Linked DNA regions of Homo sapiens: all the other regions are linked to region 1. The links are contacts of gene promoters, found by promoter capture Hi-C in human tissues and cell types (Jung and others, 2019). All regions are on one chromosome and are shown on one strand. Each heading gives the region's core, a stretch centred on a gene start or on the middle of the fragment in contact. The rest is flanking DNA. Distances are from core to core; before and after follow the strand shown.

The links. Contacts are between HindIII fragments. The study calls those that stand out against the background at their distance.
Region 2: a fragment that was not itself captured here is called in contact with the fragment with the promoter of AP1M1 in region 1 in 2 of the 25 tissues and cell types used here (liver and psoas muscle).
Region 3: a fragment that was not itself captured here is called in contact with the fragment with the promoter of AP1M1 in region 1 in 6 of the 25 tissues and cell types used here (liver, lymphoblastoid cells, mesendoderm cells and 3 more).
Region 4: a fragment that was not itself captured here is called in contact with the fragment with the promoter of AP1M1 in region 1 in 8 of the 25 tissues and cell types used here (dorsolateral prefrontal cortex, liver, lymphoblastoid cells and 5 more).
Region 5: a fragment that was not itself captured here is called in contact with the fragment with the promoter of AP1M1 in region 1 in 1 of the 25 tissues and cell types used here (H1 embryonic stem cells).

Annotation. Positions count from the first base shown.
Region 1 is chr19:16,196,535-16,199,208 of GRCh38, reverse strand. AP1M1 (adaptor related protein complex 1 subunit mu 1) reads right to left here and starts at 1,298. Exons shown (of 12, transcript NM_032493.4): 1 at 1,141-1,298. The coding sequence starts at 1,182. RefSeq lists a silencer at 915-1,154. The HindIII fragment of the contact is 7,648 bases long and covers 1-2,674 here.
Region 2 is chr19:15,943,445-15,946,118 of GRCh38, reverse strand. No RefSeq gene overlaps it. Among named protein-coding and RNA genes, the nearest start is that of OR10H4, 4.2 kb to the left of the region's middle. The HindIII fragment of the contact is 5,665 bases long and covers 1-2,674 here.
Region 3 is chr19:16,002,562-16,005,235 of GRCh38, reverse strand. No RefSeq gene overlaps it. Among named protein-coding and RNA genes, the nearest start is that of LINC00661, 12 kb to the left of the region's middle. The HindIII fragment of the contact is 7,158 bases long and covers 1-2,674 here.
Region 4 is chr19:16,060,812-16,063,485 of GRCh38, reverse strand. No RefSeq gene overlaps it. Among named protein-coding and RNA genes, the nearest start is that of LINC01855, 3.5 kb to the left of the region's middle. The HindIII fragment of the contact is 9,039 bases long and covers 1-2,674 here.
Region 5 is chr19:16,326,285-16,328,958 of GRCh38, reverse strand. It overlaps KLF2 (KLF transcription factor 2), which reads right to left. Exons shown (of 3, transcript NM_016270.4): 3 at 274-2,103. The coding sequence ends at 1,928. Among named protein-coding and RNA genes, the nearest start is that of KLF2, 2.8 kb to the right of the region's middle. RefSeq lists an enhancer at 1-11. The HindIII fragment of the contact is 3,241 bases long and covers 1-2,674 here.

The DNA.
Region 1 (2,674 bases), core at 49-2,548:
CGCCCCTCAACACCACTGCAATTGACATTTATTTGTGTTTTTGGAGATGGGTATCCATCTCCCCTACCAGCCTGTGAACACCGTAAGAACACAGATTGTTGAGCCCTGGCACATGACTCACACCTGTAATCCCAGCACTTTGGGAGGCTAAGACAGGTGGATCACTCGAGGTCAAGAGTTCGAGACCAGCCTGGTCAACATGGTGAAACCCTGCCTCTACTAAAAATACAAAATTTAGCTCGGCGTAGTGGCAGGTGCCTGTAATCCCAGCTACTTGGGAGGCTGAGGCAGGAAAATTGCTTGAACCCGGGAGGCGGAGGTTGCAGTGAGTGGAGATTGCACCACTACACTCCAGACTGGACGACTGAGCATGACACTATCTCAAAAACAAAACAAAAAAAAAGGGACTGTTTTTTGCTAAACACAAATCGACCCCAGGCTTAGTACCCTGCCCGGCATTAGTAGGTGCTCCCCAGATATCAGCTGAATAAACGAATGATTCTGGATCGGACTCCTAGACTTGCTACTTCTCTGTGACCATTGTGACCTTGGTCAGGTTGCTTCACCTCTCCATGCCTCAGTTTCTCCCTCTATAAAACGGCACTCGTGATCACCACTCACCTCACCTAATCCTTGTAACTCACTATCACAATGAACGTGGAGAAATTCCTACTGAGAGAAAGTGCACGATAAACAGAAGCTGTAACGCCCTGAGAAGGCGGGACTGGCTCGAGAGCACCCAGTCCCCGCCACGCCTCGCCACCCCCGGCCAAGGGTCGCGCAGCCCCTGGACGCCCTGCCTGGCTCCGAGGCCGGCTGCGGCCCCGCTTCTGGGTCCTCCACCGAGGCCCGAGCCCCCGGCCCCGGCGCCGGGGAGCAGAGGGCGGTGCAGTCAGTTACCTGGCAACGCGGTGGCTGCAGCCCACCGCGTTACGTAGCAACAGGGCGGGGATTACCCACTTAAGACCCCCGCCCGGTTACCCAGAAACAGGATGGGGCTCTCAGGTGAGGTCTACCGGCCTCTCTGCCTCACACCAGGATGGGGCTCATAAGCCGGTTACCTAGCAACAGGGTGGGTCCCCGCGGGCGGAGGCCCCTGCCGGTTGCCTGGCAACAGGGAGGGTGGGGAGCCCTCAGTACCTTGCCCTTCAGGTCCAGCACGTAGACGGCGCTGGCGGACATGATGGCTGCAGGAGGCCTCGGCAGCGGCCGAGGGCGGTGGCGGCGGCAGCGACGGTGGGGACTGCTGGGCGTTGAGCAAGGCCGGGCGCCGCCCGCGACAGCTCACCTCCACTTCCGGTTCGGGGAGCCGCGCGGGGACCGTTATGTCCGGTCCGGGAGGTGCTGTCAGGAATGCGCAGGCGCAGGACGGACTGTGCGCAGGCGCATTACGTCGTATGTAACCATGTTTCTTGCTCCCGCCAGAAGCATCCCGGAAGTAAGGCCCGGTGGGGCGGGGCCGACCAAATCAGGGCACCCAGTGGCCGCTGCCAGGCTGAGCTATGGAGCCAGAGCAGCTGGAAACGGCCTCCCGTGGGCCGAGTTAGGCGAGAGAGCCTGGTGGTGAAACCGACCTGGGGCCCAGCCCTATGGAGCTCACAGTCTGGTGGGGAAGTCTATGAAACAAGTGTACAGTCACCAATTGTGATAAGCTCAAAAGAGAGAGGTAAGGTCGTGGTTACTTGGAAAGAGGTCAAACAAACTTTCTGAATGGCAATCAAACCTTATCAACAGTCACCACCTGTCATTGTCAACATTTATCAATGAATGAGTGTGCCTGTTTATTGCCTGGAATGTTATGAAAACCAGCCTCACTGAACCTTGACCCAACATACCGTGTTTCATTTCTGCAAAGTTAGTAATCAGTAATGCAACTGGTGGCCCTTGATTAATCCATTGAGTCATATTTAATTTGCTTTTATGAACTCTTGGGCTTTGGAGAAATGCCTGCATTCTGTTCCAGTTAGCCATCATAGTACCCTGGGGATCCCAACCCTGCAATACCAGAGTGATTTACCCAGGATGCCTGCCTCTCACATCTTTTATTTTCTGTCTTATCTCCGTTTTGGCGTTTGGAAAGATGATTTTTGCAACTCGGTAATTATATAGTGTTTTGCTTAGGAAAGAAATGTGACCGAAACTCTAGAGAAGCAAACTAGAATGTTTGAAGACTGCTAAGTGACTCCTGGGCTGGAAGGATTCTTGCTCAAGGCACAGAGCAAGCAGCCAAGAGAGGGTTTTTGTTGTTTGCTTTTTTTTTTTTTTTTTTTTTTGAGATGGAGTCTCACTCTGTCACCCAGGCTGGAGTGCAATGGCATGATCTCGGCTCACTGCAACCTCTGCCTCCTGGGTTCAAGTGATTCTCTTGTGTGTCAGCCTCTCAAGTGGCTGGGATTACAGGCATGTGCCACCACACCTAGCTAATTTTTGTATTTTTAGTAGAGACGTGGTTTCACCATGTTGGCCAGGCTTGTCTCAAACTCCTGACCTCACGTGATCCACCCACCTCGGCCTCCCAAAGTGCTGGGATTACAAGGGTTAAGTTAAATATTAAAAGATAAGAGAGCCAGTGCCCTTATACAAAGGCTGGGATGTAACAAAAGCCCACCCAGAGTTGTGCCTAGGCCTTTCCTGGGCCTTGAAGCATGACAAGATAATGAAGGAATTCTTAACA
Region 2 (2,674 bases), core at 131-2,630, 250 kb after region 1:
AAAGAAAAAGAGACAACTATAGGCCTACTTCACCTATCCATGCAGATTTTAAATTCCAGAATAAAACCATAACCTAGTCAAATTTAATGGTATATTAAAAATGGTTTACCATAATAAAGTGGTATAGATTTATTTCACAAATGACAAGGATGGCTAACATCAGAAAACCTATCATATGATTTATCACAGGAGTTGATTAAAAAAGAAAAATCATGATTATTTCAATAAAGGCATAAATATGTTTTTCTTAAACTCTACTCCTATTTATGATTTTTAAAGAACACTTCACAACACAAAATTCAAGGAGATTTTCTTATCTAAATATAGAATATATAGCACAAAATTAGCAAATACTACATACACTAAATGAAGAAACTTTTTGATGCATTATTTTAGGATCAAGAAAAAGCCAAGGATACTCACTAACTCTGCTGTTCTTTAACATGGAGCTGAAAGTCGTGAGTGATGTTACAAGGCAAGAAAAAGAAACAAAGTATCTAAGGTATCTGAGGACTGGAAGCGAAGAGACGTGATCATCTACATATAAAAGATAAAAGAATGATGGTATAATCTATTGGAACAATAACAGAGCCCAGTGATGCAGAAGGCAAGGTCAGCTGGCAAAAATCCCAGTGATCCTCCTAGTGTCACACCAGTAACAAGCATTCAAGAAATAGAAGTTGAATACAGAGAAGGGGAAGATTCCCAACAGCAACACAAACTATTAGGTTGGTGCAAAAGTAGTTGCACTCTTTGCCATTATCTTTACATTTAATAGGAGAAAGTGTAGGATAATAACTTTGTAATCTAGGCACGAGGAAAGACTTCCTAAGCAAAATTTCAAATGCACAAAATATAAAGAAAAATATAAAGAAACATGTCTCAGGATTCCTTTACACACCCAAATTACTGAGCACTCTAAAGGGCTTTTGTTTATTGTGGCTTAGAACTATCATTGTTTTTTACCATATTGGAAATGAAAATTGAAAATCATTTAAAATATTAGTTATTAGTACATTTAAAAGAGCAATAATGAACCTATTGCATGCTAATATTGACAGAGCAGGAGCATCACTATCTTGGACAAGCCCCTCATTCTAAAATTCCCCTTAATAAAAAACCGCCTAAATCCAAAGGGTGTCAGGCTAATGGCTAAGGTCAGCACAACCATAAACCATAAATAACATCTCCAGCCAGAAATATTCCAAACTCCTCCCCAGTGAGAGACATGCTGGCCCCGAAATTTGCCTCCTCTGGCTGGGAAGATGCCAGCCTCAAGATCACTCCCACCCGGCCGGAAAGATGTCAGCCCCAAGATAACCTCCCCTCCTCCCAGAGACATTCCAACCCTGCCATAAAACTTCTCCCCCACACAGAAACATTCCAAGCTTGTGATAAGCCCCTCACCCTAAAACTAATATGTACTCTTAGTGTGTAAGAGAAACTTCTCCTGACTGAAATTGGCCAGAAGCCCCCCTCAGGTTTTATCTAAAGTAAACCTGTCTTTAACTGCCAAGCCATGTTTCGTGTTTCTTTCTTCTTTCTTTAACTCTTACAAATATAAGTAACATTTTCAGGCAAATAACCACATTAAGAAAAAACATTCCGTGAGAAGAGTAGCCTTGTTTGACGTTTTAGCAAAAACATCGTATGTCCTGGCTTGGCAGGAAACAGCTTGATGCTCACATTTCTTTCTTTATTCAGTCTGTGGCAATATGTGCCAGGCGCGGTGGCTCACACCTGTAATCCTAGGCTGAGGTGGGCAGATCACGAGGTCAGGAGATCAAGACCATCCTGGATAACATGGTGAAACCTCGTCTCTACTAAAAAAAAAATACAAAAAATTAGCCGGGTGTGGTGGTGGGAGCCTGTATGATGTCTTAGTTGAGGCATATGATGAAAATATATTCTAATATATAATTAGAAAAAATAAAGACTTCAGGGATCACCCTGCAGAGGTCCTCATATCATACTTTGAAAAATTCTACTATGAAATATCTAGGAATTAACCCAAAGCATCCCATACCTTCAAAGAGAAAAATTTTAAATCCATACTAATAAACATGTAGAAGATTATCTGAACATACGGGGAGCAGTTTACAGTCTTGGGTGGTATGGCTTGATGTATGAATGATGTCAATTCATACTCAAATTATAACCTCAATACAATTGTGTTTACAGTTCCAGTGAATCAACCATACATTTAATGAAACTATTTGAAAATTCCTTCAGAAAAATAAATGTCAGGCCAGTGTGGTGGCTTACACCTGTAATTCCAGCACTTTGGGAGGTTGAGGAGGCCAAGAGTTTGAGACCAGCCTGGCCAACAAGACAAAACCCTGTCTCTACCGAAAATACAAAAATTAGCCAGGCGTGGTGTTGGGCACCTGTAATCCCAGCTACTCAGGAGGCTAAGGCAGGAGAATCACTTGAAACCAAGAGGTGGAGGTTGCAATCAGTGGAGACGGCACCACTGCACTCCAGCCTGGGTGACAGACTAAGACTCTGTCTCAAATACATACATACATAAATGTTAGCACGAACCATACTAATATTATAAAAATGGAAACAAGAGAAGAGCTGTTCTCTCCCACATGCTGAGACACACAATAGCGTCATAGTCATTTTTAAAATTATGAAAGATGGAACAGACATAGATCTGAATAAGTTGATT
Region 3 (2,674 bases), core at 80-2,579, 190 kb after region 1:
ATCTGCTCAGTTCCACTGCCTGCCAGGGAAAATGATGGCTCAGAAAAGAGCCTTTGGTTAGGCTGGGCACGGTGGCTCACACCTGTAAAGGACATAATCTCGTTCTTTTTTATGGCTGCATAGTATTCCATGGTGTATATGTACTACAGTTTCTTTATCCAGTGTATCATTGACGGGCATTTAGGTTGATTCCATATCTTTGCTATTGTGAATAGTGTTGCAGTGAACAGAGGTGTGCATGTGTCTTTTAAAAATAGAACAATTTCTATTCCTTTGGGTATATACCCAGTAATGGGATTGCTGGGTCAAATGGTGGTTCTGTTTTTAGCTCCTTGAGGGATAACCACACTGCTTTCCACACTGATTGAGCTAATTTACACTCCCAACAACAACGTATCAGTGTACCTTTTTCTCTGCAACCTCATCAGCATGTTTTTTTTTTTTTTTGACGTTTTTAACAGCCATTCTGATTGGTGTTAGACGGTATCTCATTGTGGTTTTGATAAGCATTTCTCTAATGATCAGCGATGTTGAGCTTTCTATTATATGCTTGTTGGCTGCATGTATGCCTGCTTTTGAAAAGTGTCTGTTCATGTCCTTTGCCCACTTTTTAATGGAGTTGTTTATTTTTCTGTTGTACATTTGTTTAAGTTTCTTATAGATTCTAGATATTAGACCTTTGTCAGATGCACAGTTAGCAAAATTTTTTCCCATTCTGTAGGTTGTCTGTTCACTCTGTTGATAGTTTCCTTTGCTGTTTAAAAGCTTTTTAGTTTAATTAGATCCCATGTGTCAATTTTTGCTTTTGTTGCAGTTGCTTTTGGCTTCTTTGTCATGAAATATTTGACCATGTCTATGTCCTGAATGGTATTGCCTAGGTTGTCTTCCAGAGTTTTCATAGTTTTGGGTTTTTCATTTAAGTCTTTAATCCATTTTGAGTTAACTTTTGTATGTGGTATAAGGAAGGGATTCAGTTTCAATCTTCTGCGTATGGCTAGCCAGTTATCCCAGCACCATCTACTGAATAGGGAATCCTTTTTCCATTGTTAGTTTTTTTGTGTGTCAGATTTGTCAAAGATCAGATGGTTGTAGGTGTGCAGCCTTATTTCTGGGCTCTCTATTCTGTTCCATTGGTCTATGTGTCTGTTTTTGTACCAGTACCATGCTGTTTTGGCTACTGTAGCCCTGTAGTACAGTTTGAAGTCAGGTAACATGATGTCTCTAGCTTTACCTTTTTTGCTTAGGACTGCCTTAGCTATTCAAGCTCACTTTTGGTTCTATAGGAATTTTAAAACTGTTTTTTTTCTAGTTCTGTAAATAATCTCACTGGTAGTTTAATAGGAATAGCATTGAATCTATAAATTGCTTTGGGCAGTGTTAAGGCAGAAATTAAAGAAAAATAAACACTGCATTTATTCACTCCAGAAGAAATAAGGGTTATTTGAAAAACACAAGTTTTCCTCTGCTGCAGGCAAGGCTATAGACAGGTCATGGCGACCTGGCCTGCAGAAATGAGCTGCAGACACTCCTGAGAAAGGTTAAAAGAACAACAAATTCCTTCAATGTCTCTCCTGTACTGAACTATTAGTTATGACTATGTTTGCCAATGCTTGTATTTAGTAAGATTTGCAAAGTTCCTGTTTTAATTTTTTTCTGATGCGCTGCATATACAAGGCCACAAGTTATGCCAAGTTAGCAGTTACACTATAGATTATGTGGCTTGTCACTGTAAAATTTATTGTCTTTGTTTTGCTCTTGTATGCTAGCCTATATAAGTTAACTTTTGTTTTTGTCCAACGCTCAGCTTTTTGGATGTGAATCCACTGAACTGGTGCATACCTTAAAATAAATATCCTCCTGTTCTCCCATATCGGTCTCTGTTCCTCAGTTTCCCACAACATTTCTGAAGAGCCAGCCAGGAGTGGAGACAACAGGCTTACTGTCTCCTTTGCCTGTGGGGGCTGGAGGAGCCCTGGGCCAGGGGAGACCTGTGACCCCAGGCACTGCCCAGAGAACTTCAGCCCGGAGGGGAGATCGGGTCTCTCATGACCTGGTGCCCCTACCCAGCAGCACAGTGGAACCTGAGGGGCTATGGGATGATTCCAGGAGCAGCGTGCTTCCTTCAGGACTGCAGTAAGGTTTTGGGGCCCAAGGCAGGACCCACCCCATAAGGATGGAAGGGGAGCCTGATCACCTCCTGGGATGTGACTATTAATCCAACCCAGAAGGGCTGGGGGTGGTGAGAATGGCTCGCCAATTCAGATGAAACTTACACCCCAACTGACATAGGATGCAAGAGTGGCTCACTAAGTTGGTTAGGAAAAGGAAACTGGAGGTAGTGAGAGTGGCTCACCACCCCAATTAAGAACATGGGAACTGGGAGTGGGGAAGTGTGTGAAAGTGTGTGAATGGAGGGGCCTAATTAGGTTCATCAGTTGCAAAGTGGGGAGTCACAGATCTCTTAGCCTGGACTGTGTGTTCTGAGCAAAGTGTGGGGCCGACTAAGACTAGCGGTGATCTGCATATGGCTAATAGGAGCTGCCCTACGACTGCAGCAGTTGTAGCAGGAATAAGGAACTCTCCGAAGCCAAGCAGCATCTGAAAACTCCTGTAATAGGAGATGGTATATTCAGCCGAAACAAGAGGAAGAGTGAGTGTGCAAGAGTGAGTGTGC
Region 4 (2,674 bases), core at 125-2,624, 140 kb after region 1:
TCCTTCTTTCTTTCTTTCTTTCCTTCTTTCCTTCTTTCCTTCTTTCCTTTCTTTCCTTCTTTCCTTCTTTTCTTTCTTTCTCGAGACAAGGTCTCACTCTGTTGCCCAGGCTGGAGTGCAGTGGCACAATCGTGGCTCACTACAGCCTAGATCCCCCAGCTTCAATTGATCCTCCCACCTCAGCCCGCTGAGTAGCTAGGACTACGGGCATGTGCCACTATGCCTGGATACTTTTTTGTTTTTGTAGAGGTGGCGTCTTGCTATGTTGCCCAGGCTGGTCTTGAACTCCTGGGTTCAAGTGATCTTCCTGCCTTGGCCTCCCAAACTATTGGGATTACAGGCATGAGCCCCTGTGCCTGGCCTGCCGTGAGCTATTATTGCACCACTGCACTTCAGCCTGGGCATCAGATACCCCATCTCTTAAAAAATGCAAGGACAAATAGTTTATTTGGGAAGTGACCCAAGGAGATACAAGTAGAGGATGGGAAGTGAAATAGGGAAAAGAAAGTAACCATTAAGCATGCATTATGAAACCAGTTACTGCCATGGACAAATAGGGTGCAGTCCCACTGAGGGCCTCTGGAGGCAGCAGAGAGCATGCTCTTTGGAGTTGTCCCAGCTGAGGGGCGAAGGAGCTGGGGTATTTATCCACCAATTCCATGCTGCTGTTGATTGAAGGCTGCTCTTAGGGGCTGTTGATTGTGCTGATCTGCCCTTGTATGGGTCACACTCACTTCAGCAGCTGGAGGAAGACCGCCTCTCCCCCTAGCAGAGAGATGAAGCTGCTAGAAGTACCCCTTGGTGTGGAGAGAAACAGTAGGAACCCAGTGGATCTGGGCAGGCACCCAGAGTGTGAGCTAAATTTTTTTTTTTTTTTGAGATAGTCTTGCTCTGTCCTGCACTCCCAGGCTGGAGTGCAGTGGCACGATCTCGGCTCACTGCAACCTCCGCCTCCCAGGTTCAAGCAATTCTCGTGCCTCAGCCTCCCAAGTAGCTGGGATTACAGGCATGCACCACCACACCTGGCTACTTTTTGTATTTTTGCAAAGACAGGGTTTCACCATGTTGGCCAGGCTGGTCTCGAACTCCTGACCTCAGGTGGTCTGCCCACCTCGGCCTCCCAGAGTGCTGGGATTACAGGCATGAGTCACCACGCCCAGCCTAAAAATGTTAATGCATGCAAAATGCAGGCACCTGATTAGTCTTGGGTGGAAGTCAGGAAAAAGCCTCCCTGAGGAAGTGGCAATTGAGGGAGGCCTGAACGGTGGTGATGGGGTCTATGCGAAGGTCATAGGAGGAAGGGACTGAGGGCAGGTGAGAGTGTCTGCCGTTGAATGCAGAGGTGAGGATGTGGTGTGGTGTGGTGTGGTGGGTGGTGAGGCTGCAGAGATCAAACAACAGAAGAGAGGATGGGGACTGCCCCCAAATGTGTCTCCTGCAGTTTGAGACATGCAAAGAGACCAAGGCAACAGGTGAGTTTACTGAGTTCCAATAGAAAAGAGCAAAAATGTTCTCAGCTTGCACTCTATGGAGTTTCATTTCATGGGGTACAATAGAGTAATAAGATGACAAGGATGACAATAAAAATGACCCTGAAGCTGGGTGCAGTGGCTCACGCCTGTAGTCGCAGCACTTTGGGAGGCAAAGGTGGGAGAATTGCTTGAGCCCAGGAGTTCAAGATCATCCTGAGCAACAGAGCGATACCCCATCTCTACAAAAAATTTAAAAATTAGCTGGGTGTGGTGGCATGCATCTGTAGTCCCAGCTACTCCAGAGGCTGAGGCAGGAGGATCACTTGAGCCCAGGAGTTTGAGTCTGCAGTGAGCCATGCTGGTACCACTGCACTCCAGCCTGGGCAACAGAGTGAGACTCTATCTCTTAATAAAAAAAGAGTTTCTAGACCAGGTGTAGTGGCTCACACCTGTAATCCTGGTACTTTGAGAGGCCAAGGGGTTGGATCCCTTGAGGCTAGAAGTTCGAGACCAGCCTGGCCAACATGGTGACATCCCGTCCCTACTAAAAATACAAAAAAATTAGCCGGGCATAGGTGATGCACACCTGTAATCCCAGGTACTTGGGAAGCTGACAAGTATTGCTTGAACCCGGGAGGTAGAGGTTGCAATGAGCTGAGATTGCACCACTGCACTCCTGCCTGGGCTACAGAGCAAGATCCTGTTTAAAAAAAAAAAAAATTATCCGGGAAGGGGCAAACCATTGGTGGGGCGGGCAAGGAGAAAAGGGCTCTAAGTCCTCCCCAAAGTCTCTGAGCCACACTCCGAGGGAACTGTGTGGGTTAGAGAGCTTGGCCATTAATCCCGTAAAACAGGCATGACCACAAGCTTGGTGGCATCGTCACGATAATTAATAATAATTATAGTTAACACTGACATGTCTTTAATGTGTCCATGCTGTTCTACGTGCCTTGCACACATCAGCTCACTTAATTTTCACAATAACCTCGTGAGATAAGTGCTGCTGTCATTTCCATTTTATAAAAGGAGAAATTGAGGCACAGAGAGGTGAAGTAACTTGCTCAAGCCAGCACAGCTAAGAAGTGGTGGTGTTGGGAGTTGAACCAAGAGTGGCTGACTCCGGATTCTACACATTGACCCACAAACTATAACCTGAGCAGCCTCCCCTATTCAACCTCCTACCTGAGTTACCTTCATGGACA
Region 5 (2,674 bases), core at 130-2,629, 130 kb before region 1:
TCCAGGAGAAACCTGGAAGACATTTTCAAATAAGCAAGAAAAATAGCTTGATCACTAAGTTTAAGCTGAACAGGGAAACCTGGAGACCCTTAATATTGTTTTAAACCACCCGCGAGTCCTTCTTCTGCCCCTGCACTGCAGAGGCCAGCTTTTAAAAAGGGGGATCATCTCCCCAGGTCGAGGGGCCAACATTCTGTCTTGGGACGGTTTTTGCAGAAGCTGCACGCAGAGGGTACAGGAGGCTCAAAAACATTCACACCCTTCATCAGCAGCGGAAGTGAGGCCAGGCTATTTACTCTCGGAAAATGAATCAGATTGTCAAATCGTATTTCTGCTTTTCGTGGATTACCAAACACCTCTCAGCTGTTTCCAGGGCTGCCGTAGTTGGGGAGGAGGAAGGATGCAGGGAGGGAGGAAATCCCAGCCTCTGTCGCAACGGGGTGAGAGTGTTTTAAAGCAGGCGCTGCTTACGAGCTATTTTCACTTTCTGGAAACTTGTGCAATGGTTGGTGGTCATGGTTACCCGGGGCCCCTGAGAATGGGGAAGGTGAGGGGTGGCAGGTGAAATCTGGGGGGAGAGATACCTCCTTGCCTGAGACACTTGGGGTGGTGGGATTTAGGGGTCTCCTCTGCTCTCCAGGTGGGTTTCCAGACTGGTCACCTCCTACCATTGAGGCAGTGAATTTTTTGCACCAGGAGACCTACAGGGGAGGAGGCTCTCCTAGCCTTCCAATGCACACAACAGGTGGGTCATTGTAGAAAGCTACCACTCCCTTCCAGTGGGGTTCAGGGACCCTTGGAGGCAGACAGAGCAGGCTAACAACCCAACTCCACCACCCTGCCGCTACCTCTCCGGGCCTCCGTTTCCTCATCTGGAAAAGAGCTTCATGCATGGCCCTCGAATGCAGGTTTCACTGTTTTCCGCTAGCAGAATGGGGAACTCACCCCTTAAGAAAAGACTTGCTAAATGTCGAGACGAGTAAAGGGCAGAACATGCCAGAAACTCAGCAGGTTAACCCCCTTTAAAAATAAAAATAAAAATATAGAGCTGGCACTCCAGAAATTTGGCTAAAACCTCAGAGGCTTCCAGGAAGAGGTAAGTAGTTTTATTTTTTTCAACGTAGAGGAGGCCACGTCAGTGGGACCAGCACTTTCCCCAGCTGTGGGGCAAAGAGGCAATTTATGGCTCAAAGAACAACCTTAAAATAACCCTCCCTCAGTCCTAAAATGCAGTGTCTAAATTTACAGAAAAACCCACAGGTTCCTGGCAGGCAGGCACAGCAGCTGGCAGTCCCGGTGCTGGCAGACGCAGGACCCACTGCACACGATGCTTTAGTGGGGCTGCCCTCCATCAAACTCTCCGCTCCCCCCTCCTCCCAAGTGCCCCAAGGCCCCAGTTCCAAGCAACCAGACCAGTGCTGTGATTTTTTTTAAAAGATGCAAAACTTTTTAATTAAAAAAAAAACCAACCCAGCAAAATCTTATAAAAACGAACCAGGTAGCCCAAAAATGCCCACCTGTCTCTCTATGTACAGTAATACAATATTTGTCAGTCACTATATACAATATTATAAAAAATGCCGCAGACAGTACAAATTAAGGCCCTTATTTCTCACAAGGCATCACAAGCCTCGATCCTCTAGTGTAGACCCGGTGGGAGAGAAGATGCCACTTAAATTATTGCACCATTTTGAAAAACAAAACTCGTCAAGGAGGATCGTGGTCTTTTCCCACCGGGCCTTCAGTCACAGACGGGGGCTGGGGTGGTGGCGTCGTCGTCGTCGTCATCGAGGGAGACCCTCTGTAGCCACGCTGTGCCCGGCCCGGTTCTCTGGGTCCAATAAATACCAGTCACAGTTTGGGAGGGGGCCGCGCCCGGCGCGTGGGACCCGCCACGGCCGCGCGCAGGTGGGCGGGGGCGTCCCGGCTACATGTGCCGTTTCATGTGCAGCGCCAGGTGATCGGAGCGCGAGAAGGCACGATCGCACAGATGGCACTGGAATGGCCGGTGGCCCGTGTGCTTTCGGTAGTGGCGCGTGAGCTCGTCTGAGCGCGCAAACTTCCAGCCGCAGCCGTCCCAGTTGCAGTGGTAGGGCTTCTCACCTGCAGGGAGGGGGCGAGAGTAAGCGTCAGTTCCCCTCCCAGGACAGGGCACGTATGGCTACCCCGGCGAGCGCAACCTATCCCTAACCAGGGCCTTGACGCGCTCCCCGCGGTAGTGTTGCGCCCCTGAGGGATCCTTGCCCTACATCCCCAACTCCCCCCACAATCCGGATCCTCACCCCCAGGGGGTCGGAGGAGCGCAAGGTCCACTCCCCACTGTTGTCAGCCACGCTCCCCGACGGGTCCTAAGCATGCACCCTCTCTCCAGCATTCTAAGACACGGAATCTCTCAAGGTTTCCCAGCGAACACTCCCTCCCCAAGGTCCTGAGCCTTGTCCCCAGAGGAGTCCCAAGCCTGAGCGCCCTCCCCAACTTCCTGAGACGCAGCATCTCCCCGGGGTTCCTAAACGCGCACCTACTCCCCAACTACCTGAGCCTCAGCCCCGGGGATTCTGAGCCAAGTGCCCAGCGGCTCCTAAACCTGCTCCCCCTCCCCAACTTTCTGAGACTGTCTCCCTAGCCACGCCTCCAGGAGGTTTTCTAAGTGCTCTTCCCAACCTCCGGAGGCCCC